2 separate regions of the Homo sapiens genome follow, and region 2 is linked to region 1. The links are contacts of gene promoters, found by promoter capture Hi-C in human tissues and cell types (Jung and others, 2019). All regions are on one chromosome and are shown on one strand. The core of a region is centred on a gene start or on the middle of the fragment in contact, and the rest is flanking DNA. Distances in the headings are between cores, read along the strand shown. Region 1 holds the start of NOG (noggin). Region 2 overlaps ANKFN1 (ankyrin repeat and fibronectin type III domain containing 1).

The links. Contacts are between HindIII fragments. The study calls those that stand out against the background at their distance.
Region 2: a contact is called between a fragment that was not itself captured here and the fragment with the promoter of NOG in region 1, in 1 of the 25 tissues and cell types used here (spleen).

What each region holds. Positions count from the first base shown.
Region 1 is chr17:56,592,388-56,595,087 of GRCh38, forward strand. It overlaps NOG (noggin), which reads left to right and starts at 1,312. Exons shown (of 1, transcript NM_005450.6): 1 at 1,312-2,700. The coding sequence starts at 1,837. The coding sequence ends at 2,535. RefSeq lists a silencer at 165-374. The HindIII fragment of the contact is 21,510 bases long and covers 1-2,700 here.
Region 2 is chr17:56,154,921-56,157,620 of GRCh38, forward strand. All of the region lies in intron 1 of ANKFN1 (ankyrin repeat and fibronectin type III domain containing 1), which reads left to right. Among named protein-coding and RNA genes, the nearest start is that of ANKFN1, 2.8 kb to the left of the region's middle. RefSeq lists a silencer at 2,108-2,314. The HindIII fragment of the contact is 5,131 bases long and covers 1-2,700 here.

The DNA of each region.
Region 1 (2,700 bases), core at 62-2,561:
GAGACCGATTTACCTGAGGCAGAAGGTGCTGCACGCATTCTTGTGAAATTTGAGGGGACCGAGAAGGAATCTCAGGAAGTTTGTTTACACTGGGGGCCTGGAGACCTTCGGGAAAATAGCCAGAACCAAAACGGACCAGTCAGCAGACGCAGACACACACAAAGTGACAGGGACACAGAAGCAGAAGCTGAACTGGGCAGAGCGGGCAGCGGCCGACCCACCTCGCACGGCCGCCCCCGCCAGCGCCAGGTGCAGGGCTCATAGCGGGCCAGCAGAGGGCGCGCCGCCCCCAGGGAGCCGAGCGGCGGCCGCGCGGAGCCGGGCGGGCTAGGGGAGCCGCAGGCGAGCCAGTCGCGCCCCTGAGGCTAGGCCACTCAGGGTGCAGGACCCGGCCAAGGAGGAGGAGGATGGTGAGGAGCGGAACCCCCTCGTGGGCCCGAGGGGCAGACAGACAGGAGTGCTTCCTAAGAATTACATCACGCTGCGCAACGCTGCGGCTCTCGGACTCCCTGGTGCAAAGGGGGGTGGGGTAGGGGCTGTGTGTGTGTGTGTGTGTGTGTGTGTATATATGTGTGTTGGGGGGAGGGGACTTAGAGCAAGAGCCCGGGAGAGAAGAAGACGCGCTCGGGGAAAACGCTCCATGCACATGGAGAAATTTCTTGCTCCGAACTGCATGCACCGAGAAACGAGCCCCCAGCACTTCCCCGCTGCTCCCCTCCCAGTGCAAAGCACCCAGCTAGTGAGAAACCCTCCAGCCCCACCTCAAGCACCGCCCCCCCTCCCCAAACACCGGCTCTGCACCCTCCAGCCCGGCTCCAGCGCCGCCGCGAGCTTTCCCCAGGACTGGCCCTGGCGGGGCGCCTAGAGCCCCAGTTGCATTGCTCCAGGAGAAAGGAGGGGGGCGGTGCATTTTGCAGGAGGAGGAGAAGGGGGGTGGGTGGTGGGGGAGAGAGAAAATTGCGCGGAGACCTGCCAAGCGCCACCGCCGCCGCCACCGCCGCTGCCGCCGCCGCCGCCGCCGCCTGTGAGCTCCGGCGGGCAGCCGGACTGTCGGCTTCCCGGGGCATCTGGGTCCGGCGGGGCACAGCCCTGGGCGCTGCCGAAGCCGCCGCCGCCGCCTCCGCGGCGAGTACAGGCGGCTTCCCCCGGAGCCTGTGCAGCTCCAGCTCCTCGGGGGTGGAGAAGTGGGGGGTGGGGTTGTTGTTTGGGGGGAAGAAGGGGGAGGGGGCAACGCCGAGAGAGTCAGTGGTTTCCATGGTGATGGAGCTGAAAGTGCAGGAAATTTAAAGGCTTGGACCCTGCGAGACAGACAAACCGGTGCCAACGTGCGCGGACGCCGCCGCCGCCGCCGCCGCTGGAGTCCGCCGGGCAGAGCCGGCCGCGGAGCCCGGAGCAGGCGGAGGGAAGTGCCCCTAGAACCAGCTCAGCCAGCGGCGCTTGCACAGAGCGGCCGGACGAAGAGCAGCGAGAGGAGGAGGGGAGAGCGGCTCGTCCACGCGCCCTGCGCCGCCGCCGGCCCGGGAAGGCAGCGAGGAGCCGGCGCCTCCCGCGCCCCGCGGTCGCCCTGGAGTAATTTCGGATGCCCAGCCGCGGCCGCCTTCCCCAGTAGACCCGGGAGAGGAGTTGCGGCCAACTTGTGTGCCTTTCTTCCGCCCCGGTGGGAGCCGGCGCTGCGCGAAGGGCTCTCCCGGCGGCTCATGCTGCCGGCCCTGCGCCTGCCCAGCCTCGGGTGAGCCGCCTCCGGAGAGACGGGGGAGCGCGGCGGCGCCGCGGGCTCGGCGTGCTCTCCTCCGGGGACGCGGGACGAAGCAGCAGCCCCGGGCGCGCGCCAGAGGCATGGAGCGCTGCCCCAGCCTAGGGGTCACCCTCTACGCCCTGGTGGTGGTCCTGGGGCTGCGGGCGACACCGGCCGGCGGCCAGCACTATCTCCACATCCGCCCGGCACCCAGCGACAACCTGCCCCTGGTGGACCTCATCGAACACCCAGACCCTATCTTTGACCCCAAGGAAAAGGATCTGAACGAGACGCTGCTGCGCTCGCTGCTCGGGGGCCACTACGACCCAGGCTTCATGGCCACCTCGCCCCCCGAGGACCGGCCCGGCGGGGGCGGGGGTGCAGCTGGGGGCGCGGAGGACCTGGCGGAGCTGGACCAGCTGCTGCGGCAGCGGCCGTCGGGGGCCATGCCGAGCGAGATCAAAGGGCTAGAGTTCTCCGAGGGCTTGGCCCAGGGCAAGAAGCAGCGCCTAAGCAAGAAGCTGCGGAGGAAGTTACAGATGTGGCTGTGGTCGCAGACATTCTGCCCCGTGCTGTACGCGTGGAACGACCTGGGCAGCCGCTTTTGGCCGCGCTACGTGAAGGTGGGCAGCTGCTTCAGTAAGCGCTCGTGCTCCGTGCCCGAGGGCATGGTGTGCAAGCCGTCCAAGTCCGTGCACCTCACGGTGCTGCGGTGGCGCTGTCAGCGGCGCGGGGGCCAGCGCTGCGGCTGGATTCCCATCCAGTACCCCATCATTTCCGAGTGCAAGTGCTCGTGCTAGAACTCGGGGGCCCCCTGCCCGCACCCGGACACTTGATCGATCCCCACCGACGCCCCCTGCACCGCCTCCAACCAGTTCCACCACCCTCTAGCGAGGGTTTTCAATGAACTTTTTTTTTTTTTTTTTTTTTTTTTTCTGGGCTACAGAGACCTAGCTTTCTGGTTC
Region 2 (2,700 bases), core at 81-2,580, 440 kb before region 1:
ACTTCGACCATACTATTTCAGTTCTCTAACACTCAGTTTCTTCATCCATGAAGTGACAGAGTTTAAACGAGAACAGTGTTTTCCCAACAAAAGTAGTTATCTAAAGCCTTCATGCCCCCCTCAACCCTGGGGGATAGGAGGGTTTGGGAGAGGGAGGCCCGTCTGGTCAAGAACAGCTGCTGCAAAAAGGAACATGGCAGACAGAGGAGGAAGTAGAGCAAAAAGTGGCTCAGAGACTGGAAGCTGGAAAATGCTGGACCTTAGAGGACTCCTCAGGTCCCTTGTAACTCTGACATTTATTCAGAGTCATGAGACTTATCTCTCCCAGTTTTGTGTCACCTCTCCTGTATTAGGTACTTTTGAAGATGACACAAAGCAGTACTGTCATTTGTTCTGATATAGGCAAGCAAGCTACCTTTCTTCCATGAGACAAGGCTTCTCACTGCTGAGAGGTCTGAATCTCTGCCCTTGGAATGTGCCAAGCAGCTGGTCCTAAGCCAGCCACGCTCTGTCTCTTCATTCCAATATAGTCTTTCATTTATTCGACAATCAACAGGTAATTATTGAAAGCCAATAACTTTCCTTTTTTCTGGATAGCGTGGTCAGGAAGGTTCTCTTTGAGGAGGTGACAGTTAAGCTGAGGCACCAATTAAGTGAAGGAATAAGCTGTGCTTACAGTGGGAGAATAGCACTGGCTTGAGTCTGAGGACCCCCGTAAGTATGAGGCTCTTGATTTGGGGAGTCAGCTTGGCATGTCTTAAGGCAAAGCAAGGTGCCTGGGGCAGAAACAGAGTGAAGCAGAGAGGAGAGGTCAGAAGGTTGGAGTGAGATGACACAGATCACAGGGGCCTTGTAGGTCATGATAGGGACCAATGGGAAGCCATTGGATAAATTTTTACATAGAAATAATTATATCTGATCACTCCAGCAAATGCGCAGAGGATAGTGTTCTATAGATGATATCTGCAAAGTGGTTGGTTAGAGTGAAGGGCTTGGAAACTAAGCAGCCTACGTGGGAAGTCACATGGTGTCTGGGAAACTTGGATGTGGTTGGATAGGCCTGGATTTGAATCCTGATCTTGAGGCTGACCTATTGTGTAATTTGGGCAAGTTATTTAACTTCCCTCTTCTCCATTTCCTCATCTCTCTCTCACTCTTTTTTTTTTTTTTTTTCCTTGAGATAGAGTCTCACTCTGTCACCCAGGCTGGAGTGCAGTGGTGCAATCTTGGCTCACTACAACCTCCACCTCCAGAGTTCAAGCAATTCTCATGCCTCAACCTCTCGAGTAGTTGGGACTACAGGCATGCACCAACACTCCAGGCTAATTTTTTTGTTGTTGTATTTTTAGTAGAGACAGGGTTTCACTATGTTGGCCAGACTTGTCTCAAACTCCTGGCCTCAAGTGGTCCACCCACCTTGGCCTCCCAAAGTGCTGGGATTGCAGGTGTGAGCCACCACGCCCAGCCTGTTTCCTCACCTCTTAAAGAGGGACCACATTATCTACCTCAATGAGTTGTGAAGATGAAAGCAGAGAGATTACATATGTTATCTCAAAGCAGCTGCTTAAAATGATAGTGTTATTGTCCAAACTAATCCCATGACCTTTGCACTATGGGCCACAGATGAGCAAGACAACTGGAAACGTAAGATGCATGGTGGGTTTCATATATTATCCTCTTTATACCTTGCTCCCTTTGGGAACGTGGGAGGTGGAAAAGGAAGGAGTAAGGTGACTTGTGCCAAGTCTTGCAGCTGGTTAAGGTCAGGGCTGTGTCTAGGGGCCAGGTTCTTTGTTCCTGCCTCATGTTCTTTCTTTTACGCTTAGAGTTAGCAAACTACAGCCCCACAGGGCAATCCTAGCTTGCCCTCTGTTTTTATAAATAATGTTTTATTTGAACACAGCCATGCTCACTCATTTATAGACTATCTGTGGCTGCTTTCACACCAGGGCAGCAGAGTTGATTAGTTACAACAAAGACAGTGTAGCCCCAAAAAGCCAAAATATTTACTTGCCAGAACTTTACAGAAAAAGTTTGCCAGCCCCCCATCTACACCATTCTTCTCCCTTAATTGGCATGGCTTTATTGTATTTAGCTTAGATATTACCAAATAGGAAAGGCTGGCCTCTCTAGGTCTCCAAAACAGTGGGATTCAGAGGTTCTTTTGAGGAGAGCACTGTACTGGTAGAATATTGCAGTGAGAGATCTCAGGCCACTGGGAGCCAGCAGAAACACACTGGTCACCTGGCAGGGGACAGCAAAGGGAGAGGATGGGGACTCTGGGCATGGTACCTGGGTAGAGAAGAAGGGAATCCCAAATACTTGCTCTTAACTATTTCAGACCTCAGAGACAGCTATCTAAAACAGGTGAGGAGGAATGTAGAGGGCTCAGGAAATGAGCAATGCAGCAGCTTTATCTGACCACCACAACTTGAATGTGCACTGCTGAGTGGGTCTCTCTGGGACACACCTATCAGGGATTAGCTGGACCTCAGGGCTGCTCATCACTTTATACCCTCGGATGACCATCATTAGCACACTGGGAAACAATGCTTGCTTATTCCCAGAGACCACAGTTCAGATGCAAATGGATCTTCCTGGTGACTCCTCCTTCCTCTCTCGAGACTTTAGGAGTATGTGTGGACTATGGCGTCTTACCAGGGACTATTTCCCTGCCTGGCACTCAAGAAGCTCACAGCT